Regions from separate parts of the Homo sapiens genome. Here regions 1 and 3 are each linked to region 2. Evidence: promoter capture Hi-C in 16 types of primary human blood cells and fetal thymus (Javierre and others, 2016). All regions are on one chromosome and are shown on one strand. The core of a region is centred on a gene start or on the middle of the fragment in contact, and the rest is flanking DNA. Distances in the headings are between cores, read along the strand shown.

Evidence for each region. Contacts are between HindIII fragments. The CHiCAGO score rates a contact against its expected background, and 5 or more counts as called.
Region 1: a fragment that was not itself captured here is called in contact with the fragment with the promoter of CDK6 in region 2 in 16 of 17 cell types (fetal thymus, erythroblasts, activated CD4 T cells and 13 more); the score reaches 19.5 in fetal thymus.
Region 3: a contact is called between a fragment that was not itself captured here and the fragment with the promoter of CDK6 in region 2, in 1 of 17 cell types (erythroblasts). The highest score is 5.8, in erythroblasts.

What each region holds. Positions count from the first base shown.
Region 1 is chr7:92,609,924-92,613,523 of GRCh38, reverse strand. CDK6 (cyclin dependent kinase 6) reads left to right here. Exons shown (of 8, transcript NM_001145306.2): 8 at 1-3,600. Among named protein-coding and RNA genes, the nearest start is that of FAM133B, 21 kb to the right of the region's middle. The HindIII fragment of the contact is 254 bases long and covers 1,767-2,020 here.
Region 2 is chr7:92,835,198-92,838,551 of GRCh38, reverse strand. CDK6 (cyclin dependent kinase 6) reads left to right here and starts at 1,979. Exons shown (of 8, transcript NM_001145306.2): 1 at 1,979-2,074. It overlaps CDK6-AS1 (CDK6 antisense RNA 1), which reads right to left and starts at 2,069. Exons shown (of 2, transcript NR_110088.1): 1 at 1,989-2,069. RefSeq lists silencers at 1,677-2,036, 3,147-3,354 and an enhancer at 2,487-2,566. The HindIII fragment of the contact is 6,850 bases long and covers 405-3,354 here.
Region 3 is chr7:93,008,271-93,011,478 of GRCh38, reverse strand. No RefSeq gene overlaps it. Among named protein-coding and RNA genes, the nearest start is that of SAMD9, 110 kb to the left of the region's middle. The HindIII fragment of the contact is 963 bases long and covers 1,421-2,383 here.

The DNA.
Region 1 (3,600 bases), core at 644-3,143, 220 kb after region 2:
CTCTACAGTCCTTTATATTTCATACCATCTCTGCCTTATAAGTGGTTTAGTGCTCAGTTGGCTCTAGTAACCAGAGGACACAGAAAGTATCTTTTGGAAAGTTTAGCCACCTGTGCTTTCTGACTCAGAGTGCATGCAACAGTTAGATCATGCAACAGTTAGATTATGTTTAGGGTTAGGATTTTCAAAGAATGGAGGTTGCTGCACTCAGAAAATAATTCAGATCATGTTTATGCATTATTAAGTTGTACTGAATTCTTTGCAGCTTAATGTGATATATGACTATCTTGAACAAGAGAAAAAACTAGGAGATGTTTCTCCTGAAGAGCTTTTGGGGTTGGGAACTATTCTTTTTTAATTGCTGTACTACTTAACATTGTTCTAATTCAGTAGCTTGAGGAACAGGAACATTGTTTTCTAGAGCAAGATAATAAAGGAGATGGGCCATACAAATGTTTTCTACTTTCGTTGTGACAACATTGATTAGGTGTTGTCAGTACTATAAATGCTTGAGATATAATGAATCCACAGCATTCAAGGTCAGGTCTACTCAAAGTCTCACATGGAAAAGTGAGTTCTGCCTTTCCTTTGATCGAGGGTCAAAATACAAAGACATTTTTGCTAGGGCCTACAAATTGAATTTAAAAACTCACTGCACTGATTCATCTGAGCTTTTTGGTTAGTATTCATGGCTAGAGTGAACATAGCTTTAGTTTTTGCTGTTGTAAAAGTGTTTTCATAAGTTCACTCAAGAAAAATGCAGCTGTTCTGAACTGGAATTTTTCAGCATTCTTTAGAATTTTAAATGAGTAGAGAGCTCAACTTTTATTCCTAGCATCTGCTTTTGACTCATTTCTAGGCAGTGCTTATGAAGAAAAATTAAAGCACAAACATTCTGGCATTCAATCGTTGGCAGATTATCTTCTGATGACACAGAATGAAAGGGCATCTCAGCCTCTCTGAACTTTGTAAAAATCTGTCCCCAGTTCTTCCATCGGTGTAGTTGTTGCATTTGAGTGAATACTCTCTTGATTTATGTATTTTATGTCCAGATTCGCCATTTCTGAAATCCAGATCCAACACAAGCAGTCTTGCCGTTAGGGCATTTTGAAGCAGATAGTAGAGTAAGAACTTAGTGACTACAGCTTATTCTTCTGTAACATATGGTTTCAAACATCTTTGCCAAAAGCTAAGCAGTGGTGAACTGAAAAGGGCATATTGCCCCAAGGTTACACTGAAGCAGCTCATAGCAAGTTAAAATATTGTGACAGATTTGAAATCATGTTTGAATTTCATAGTAGGACCAGTACAAGAATGTCCCTGCTAGTTTCTGTTTGATGTTTGGTTCTGGCGGCTCAGGCATTTTGGGAACTGTTGCACAGGGTGGAGTCAAAACAACCTACATATAAAAAGAGAAAAAGAGAAACTTGTCCATTTAGCTTTCATAAGAAATCCCATGGCAAAGGGTAATAAAAAGGACCTAATCTTAAAAATACAATTTCTAAGCACTTGTAAGAACCCAGTGGGTTGGAGCCTCCCACTTTGTCCCTCCTTTGAAGTGGATGGGAACTCAAGGTGCAAAGAACCTGTTTTGGAAGAAAGCTTGGGGCCATTTCAGCCCCCTGTATTCTCATGATTTTCTCTCAGGAAGCACACACTGTGAATGGCAGACTTTTCATTTAGCCCCAGGTGACTTACTAAAAATAGTTGAAAATTATTCACCTAAGAATAGAATCTCAGCATTGTGTTAAATAAAAATGAAAGCTTTAGAAGGCATGAGATGTTCCTATCTTAAATAAAGCATGTTTCTTTTCTATAGAGAAATGTATAGTTTGACTCTCCAGAATGTACTATCCATCTTGATGAGAAAACTCTTAAATAGTACCAAACATTTTGAACTTTAAATTATGTATTTAAAGTGAGTGTTTAAGAAACTGTAGCTGCTTCTTTTACAAGTGGTGCCTATTAAAGTCAGTAATGGCCATTATTGTTCCATTGTGGAAATTAAATTATGTAAGCTTCCTAATATCATAAACATATTAAAATTCTTCTAAAATATTGCTTTTCTTTTAAGTGACAATTTGACTATTCTTATGATAAGCACATGAGAGTGTCTTACATTTTCCAAAAGCAGGCTTTAATTGCATAGTTGAGTCTAGGAAAAAATAATGTTAAAAGTGAATATGCCACCATAATTACTTAATTATGTTAGTATAGAAACTACAGAATATTTACCCTGGAAAGAAAATATTGGAATGTTATTATAAACTCTTAGATATTTATATAATTCAAAAGAATGCATGTTTCACATTGTGACAGATAAAGATGTATGATTTCTAAGGCTTTAAAAATTATTCATAAAACAGTGGGCAATAGATAAAGGAAATTCTGGAGAAAATGAAGGTATTTAAAGGGTAGTTTCAAAGCTATATATATTTTGAAGGATATATTCTTTATGAACAAATATATTGTAAAAATTTATACTAAGGTCATCTGGTAACTGTGGGATTAATATGGTCGAAAACAAATGTTATGGAGAAGCTGTCCCAAGCAAACTAAATTACCTGTACTTTTTTCCCATTTCAAGGGAAGAGGCAACCACATGAAGCAATACTTCTTACACATGCCTAAGAACGTTCATTGAAAAAATAAATTTTTAAAAGGCATGTGTTTCCTATGCCACCAATACTTTTGAAAAATTGTGAACCTTACCCAAAACCATTTATCATGTCCATTAAGTATATTTGGGTATATAATTAGGAAGATATTTACATGTTCCATCTCCACAGTGGAAAAACTTATTGAGGCTACCAAAGTGTGCCAAGAAATGTAAGTCCTTAGAGTAATTAGAAATGCTGTTTTCCTCAAAAGCATGAGAAACTAGCATTTTCATTTCTTATTTACTCCCTTTCTATATCAATGCAATTCACAACCCAATTTTAATACATCCCTATATCTCAAGCATTTCTATCTTGTACTTTTTCAGAAAATAAACCAAAAATAATCCTTTGGTCTCTCTATCTTCTGACCTTTGTAAGCAACAGAAATGTAAAAACAGAAGGGGTCCAATTTTTACACGTTTTTTTCTCAAGTAGCCTTTCTGGGGATTTTTATTTTCTTAATGAAGTGCCAATCAGCTTTTCAAAATGTTTTCTATTTCTCAGCATTTCCAGGAAGTGATAACGTTTAGCTAAATGAGTAGAAGTGGACTTCCTTCAACATATTGTTACCTTGTCTAGCCTTAGGAAGAAAACAAGAGCCACCTGAAAATAAATACAGGCTCTTTTCGAGCATCTGCTGAAATACTGTTACAGCAATTTGAAGTTGATGTGGTAGGAAAGGAAGGTGACTTTTCTTGCAAAAGTCTTTCTAAACATTCACACTGTCCTAAGAGATGAGCTTTCTTGTTTTATTCCGGTATATTCCACAAGGTGGCACTTTTAGAGAAAAACAAATCTGATGAAGACTAAAGAGGTACTTCTAAAAGAGATTTCATTCTAACTTTATTTTTCTGCGCATATTTAACTCTTTCCTAGCACTTGTTTTTTGGGATGATTAATAGTCTCTATAATGTTCTGTAACTTCAATATTTTACTTGTT
Region 2 (3,354 bases), core at 730-3,229:
CTGTTAATTTAATATTTGTAGCTTACTATTTTTTTAATAAATGATTTATTCAAATAAATTCTAGCCATGATGTGCTGCTTCCTATTTGCTGGCAATTATTTCTGGATTATATAAACATGTTAATTACCAGCAAGTAAATCTTGTTTTAAAAGGCAAATGATAAGTGTGAACAATTATCAAAATGGAGGATTCCCACTTGTGTCTCTGGCTTAAAGTCTAATTAGTGACTTGTAGTGATCCAATATTTTTATGTAAATATAAAATCTAATGATTTGCCTTCTTAAATTTATAAGGTATATGAGATTATAGATAGCTTTATAAATACAAATTTTGTTCAGAAAACTGGATCTTATTTTAGAAGACATGCTCTTAACACAAATGTATTTTATGAATTATCTTAAGCTTAAAGACATACAATTATTCACTTTTATTTTTAAAGAAAAAAGTATTATAATGCATTGCAAAATATGTGCTACTGAAAATGCATCAATTTTTATTTCCCTAGCCTTACCTCACACTATAACATAGAATCAGTTTTATAAAGGCAAAAATTTGATTTACTGTGAGATTAGTAACATGGTTTTAAAGTCAAAAGATTTATAGAAGTAGTATTTCCAATTCAAACAGAATTTTGCCAGGTTTTAATTTTTCTACAAAGCACTTAAGTAAATAATTTTGTGAAAAGTTTTGCTTTAAGATGTTTTAAAGGGTTTCAAGTATTCTACAGATAGAGATTTTGGGGAGAACACCAAATTCTTTCCAAAAAGACAGCTATTTCAAGTTTTCTTTTACTCCATTGTAGAAAGTTTTAAAGACTTTTTTTTCTCCAAAATCTAATTTTCACCTGAAATAATTGTATTCAAGGGTTTCTCAGCAGGTAAAGTATACATTCTTACAAGGTTTCAAATTTCAGATTTCCAATAATGCATTTAAACTGAGCACTCCTCTTTTTGTGTATGTATCTACTATCTGCAGTTCTATTATTTACACTAAATTTTAGTCTTTTTAGCTCCTCTGAAATACGTTAGTGAACCCTCAGCAGTTACTAACCACTTAATAATTGTGAGCCCGCCAGCCCCTTCAAGTAGATCGTTAACCATAAGAGTGCCTGACAATTTCCAAACCATATCCTCTGTCTAAAAGGAAAAGATAGGGCTTTGTGAGGCAGAAAGGAAGCGAAGGAAAACAAAACAAATGTAGCTCATGCTGAAAGTGAAAAGTGCTTGGATAGATTAGTATTTTCTTTTCTGCAAGGCATCCTGCCAAACTTTTTCTTTATTTTTTTAAGAGAAGAGTTATTTTTTGGTCTGATTTTTCAGTTTCTTGGAAAGTATTGGTATTTACCACCCCCATTGGCCGCTCATAATTATTGTTGGTTGTTTTGTGTTTTTCCCATCCGTCCACGTCACACAGTGAGGATGCCCCCCGCTTCACCCTGTCAAAACCCCAACTCTGGGCGACCCTGGGTTTGGAAACTCCGCCGACTCCCGACGACACGTCCCACTCTCTCCCACTAATGCCGCTTATTTTAGTCGCAGGATCCCCCTACTACAGTTTCAGCGAAAGCCGGAAATTTTCATTTAACTCTCCCCCCCACCCCCACCCCCACCGCGCCCTTCTAGCCCCCGACTCGTAGAAGGGAGCTAGGGAGCCCGGAGCTCGGAGCACTGCCGGGACTCGGCCGCCTCATTTCTCTCCGGAAGGCTTTAATTTGCACACTTTCTTGCCACTGCGCCACGAGCCCCCAGCCCCGCCGGGGGGTGGGTCTCCGGCAGAGTTGGCTTCGCGGGTCCCTGCCCCCACCCCGCACGGTCGCCCCAGCTGCCTCCCCGGCTGGGGCCCCCAGCGCCGGCCGGAGCCCAGCGGCCCCCGTCCGCCCCCAGCGAGCGGCGCGGGCGGCGCCCTCCGCCGTCCCTCCGCCCTCCGCCGCTGTGCCCACCCCCTCGCCGGAGAGAGTGCTGGTAACTCCTTCCCCAGAGTCTGATTACCTGCTCCGCGAGGCCGCGGACACGTGCGGAGAGCCGACTGACACTCGCAGCCCCCTCGGGAGGCCCGACGCGACTGGGCCCCTCAGGTGAGGAGCTGTGCGCTCGGGTGGGTGGGCTGCGGGGTGGGGGGTCCCGGGGGAGATCTGGGGGATTGGCCGGGGTCCGAGGCAGAACTGTGGGTGGGGTAAGTGGAGGGTGGCGGGGGGTGGGGGGGACCTGTGTTTCCTTGGAATCGGCTTTGGTTAACCCCTTACGAACTGAGACGGGATTGGTTATGGGGGCCAGTTTTGGGGAGCTAGAGGATTCTCCTTATCTGATGAGAGGGGGAGATCCCAGCCTAGGGACACCCGCGACACCGAGATCCTGCTTCCACGTATCCGTACGCACACACACCCACACGGAACACGCCTCATACAGTTTCTCCAAACGGAACTGGAACTCTACTCGGACACTCACATAATAATTCACATTTAGGGTTTAAAATGCACTGCCTCTAGGGACTCCATGCTGGAGAATGTGCTTGCATTTCCCCCTCGAAAACTCCCTCTCCAGCTCGCTGAGGTGTGGGTGTGGGCTCCACCTTCCCCTCCACGAGATAAATGTTAACGCAGGCTTCCTGCGGGCGTGTTATACACAGAAAAGTGCACGCAGCCGGCCAGTGCCCAGGCTTGGAGCCCCGCGAAGACGCACGTTTGCTGTAGTTTCCAAGTTTACTTTTATAATTTAAAATATTGGAGTTAAACACACGCCCCGCAGTGAGCAGCCCTGGTCCCCGCAGCGCGCCCGTCCGTGTGCATATGGGCGCATCTGCGTGTGCGCACACGCGGGAGTCGCGGTCCCCGGTGTGGCCTCTTGTCGCTGTGCTGGTGGCGACCCTTGTGGTGCTTGGCAGGCTTCGGGAGAGGCGCATGAAGGATTTCATTGAGTGTGAAGACAGAGAGCAGAGACAGAAAGCAGAAGGAGGCGGCTGCAGCCTTTGTAGTCGCGGAGGAATGCGGAAATGTTGAAGCACTATGTCAAACTTTTTTTGAAATGGGGTCAAGTCACATTCAGCCAGCGTGGGAAAGCAACAACAACAACAAAAAAAAGTGGAGGAGAGGGGGGGAAAAGGCATTGCTGCTCCCGTTTCTCTCCGCCGAAGCCGACCGTCTGGGGGGCGAGTGGGGGGAGAGCCAGGGCAGTGCGGGGCCCGGCGGGGGCAGCAGGCGCAGTTCCCTGCGGGGGTGGGACGTCCCCGACGCTTCCTTCGCTGCGGAGCCCGGGGCTAGACTCGAGCGGGAGGGGGTTGGGGGGATGCAGGACAGGCGGGTTGGGCGGCCGGCGGCGGCTCCCCGGCTACCTGTGTGGCCCTCGACCTGGCTCAGAC
Region 3 (3,208 bases), core at 653-3,152, 170 kb before region 2:
CACAATAATTAGGGACTATTTAATGCAGGGGCAAACAACAGTATACCCTCAGTAGTCCCTGAGTTACTAGGTGAGATTAAATTATGTTCAGCATTATCCATCACCAAGACAAGGAAGTGTTAATTCGTTTTGTTAAAAAGGTTGAATTTTTAAGCTGATACTTTGTTCTATTCCTTCAATAATATTGATAACAAATGAGCTGTTATTATGCAAAGATACTTGTTACTCACCATTAAACTCATATTTATCACATTTTGCCCTTTTCTAGTTTGGGGAGAGAAAATGATAGATTGGACAATATAGACTGGTAAGTGTGATATAAGGCACACTTCTTCCAATTTGAAAATACCCTAGCAAATGAACTGTTTCTGTCCAAAATATTCCTTTGGTGATAGAAAGGAGGGTCCCTGCATCCAAAAAACAAGGATAAAGCTCTGTCTTCAGCAGAAATCTCCTTGATTTGTGACTTTATAGTTTGCATGACTAACGTTCTTGATTTCTCATTTTTATAGATTGAATTGGTGAAAGTGATTTTATGTTCCCTGGAATTCCCAACACTTAAAAAGTAAGCTTTTTGCATTTCAAATGCAACCTATACAAACTGTTTTGTTTACAAAGCCTCTGAGGTGAGAAGCCAGAGTTCCAAGCATCAGGAAACCATGGGTGAGCAAGATAATTTGACAGTCAGAAAAGTCGAGCTGTTCAATAATGCTACCACTTGCCTTCCATGGAGATCTGGGATTAGTGACTTCCATGACGAATTACACACATCATGGACGTGAAGTGATCTGTTTAAGGGGTTCATTTGCAAGAGCACATGAAAGCAAGAACTTATAATGAACTCTTGGAATACTTAAAGCTTAGTAGTAACAGATATAAATTACTGCAGGAAGCAAAGGATGCTTCCAGAATATGTACAAGTGTTCAGAGTCCTTTTCTGGGAAAAAGAAATATCCCCTCCTAGTATTTCCAAATTTGAACACTCTAGGAGAGTATACTAAACGTTAGAGGTTTTTCACCATTCGATTTTAAGATTTAGTAAAAAGCTACACTAATTAAGTCAATGTGGTGTTTGCATAAGGACAAACATAGAAGAGAATCAAAAATAGACCCACACAGCCGTTTGATTTTCAACAATGATGTCAAGGTTATTAAATGGGGAATAGAGTTGTTTCAATAAATGGTATTGGACAAATGGGTATACATATGAAAAAAATGTGAACCTTTGCCACCATATTTAAAAAATTAACTCCATATGGCTCACAGAATTAAGCATAAGTGCTAAAATGATAAAATATGTAGAAAAAAGGAAAAGGAGAAAATCTTGGTTACCTTGAGTTAGTCAAAGATTTCTTAGGACACTGAAATCATGAATCAAAAAGAAAAAAATGGTAAATTAGACTTCATTAAATTAAAAGCTTCTGCACTTTCAAAGATCTGAAAGACAATGTTAAGAAAATTAAAAAGCAAGACACAAGGTGGGAAAAATATTTACAAATCACATATCTGATGAAGGGCTTGTATCCAGGATATATAAAAGAACTCTCAAAACTCATAAGAAAGCAAACCACACAATTTTTAAAAAATAGGCAAAAGGTTTGAATAGATAACTTACAAAAGAAGATACACAGATGGCAAATAAGCACAAGAAAAGATGCTCAATGTCATTACTTATTAGAGAAATGCAAGTTGAAGCCATCATATGATACACGCATCAGAGTGGCTAATTTATTACACCTATCAGAGTGGCTAATTTAAAAGAATGACAATAGCAAATGTTGATTGGGATGCAGAGCACCTGAAATTCTCATACACTGCTGGTGGAAATGTAAAATGGTACTATCACATTGAGAAAAAGTTTAGCAGCTAGTTACACATTAAACAAAAAATTACCATACAATGTAGCAATTCCATTTCTAAGTATTTACCCACAAAAAATAAAAACATATGTCTGCACAAAAACCTATATGAAATTTTTATCTTTTATTTCTACAGTTCTATTCACAGTCACCAAAAGCTGGAAACAACCTAAATGGTCAAAAAGGATGAATAGATAAACTGTGGTACATTCATACAATAGAATACTACCCAGTAACAAAAAGTAACAAACTAATGATATGCACAACTGTGGGTTAATTTCAAGAGTATTATGCTGAAAGAAAAGAGCCTTACTCAAAAGGCTTCCTAAAATGATTTCATGCTCCTCATCTTTGCCATTTTAACCCAATTATAATTGCAGCATAACACTAAGGCATATTGTAGAATACAACGCTTTTGTGTGTATTTTCTATTTGATTAATCTCACAGGGTTTTTTTTTTCTACTTAACTGAACTACTTATCAATAGAAGTTAAAGAGTTTCTCTTGAAAGTCAGCCAGAAGCTTTTTACCAACAGATGTTCAGTGCTTGAAAGATAGTTCTCAGTGACAATTGGCCAGTTCAAACAGCCTCTCCACACTTTGAAAATGCCCTGAATTCGACTTTATTACTGAGTCTAATCCCATTGAGGAAGGAGTCTAGGGACAACAGACTGGTTTGGAAGAAAAGAATTTGAGAATTGATAGCTAGTGGCAGATTGGAAATTCATAATTAAGAGCAGAAAATCTGGTATGTTATCGGTACTTTGTCACCCCACCAAATCATCAGTGAACTAACCATGTCTAGTTAACGTGTTGTGGAATTTAACTCGTTTCTGTAATGCATCTATGTAGTCTTTCCTTGAAATGAGAGAAGAGAAAAAATAAAGGTTGCCTTCAAGAATTGCCATGCATTGATTTCAAGGATAGTAGAACTTGCTTCTCTGAATTATTTTGAGGATTAAATAATGTATTAAACTATCCTGTACAATACTGACCATTTAATATATGTTCAGCAAATGTTGATTTCTCCTCACTTCTTTTATACAAAGGAGAATATTTTTAGAATTGGAAAGACCTCAGAGGTTACCTGGTCTAGTGTTTTAATTTTACAAATGAGAAAACTAGGTTCGATGAGATTAAGGGGTTGCTCAAACTCACTCAGAGTTAGAAGTCCAACTTCCAGTTCACATGAATCCTTTCCCTAAAGCACCTGCTTTCAACTGTGGTGTCTCAAGCAGCAGAGCTGGAGGGAGAACTGAGGGACCAAATAATTTTATCCTAAATAAACCATATTTAGGGATCACGGACTCTTGCTTCTGGGCTTCTTGCTCTGTGTTTATTTTGGCTAT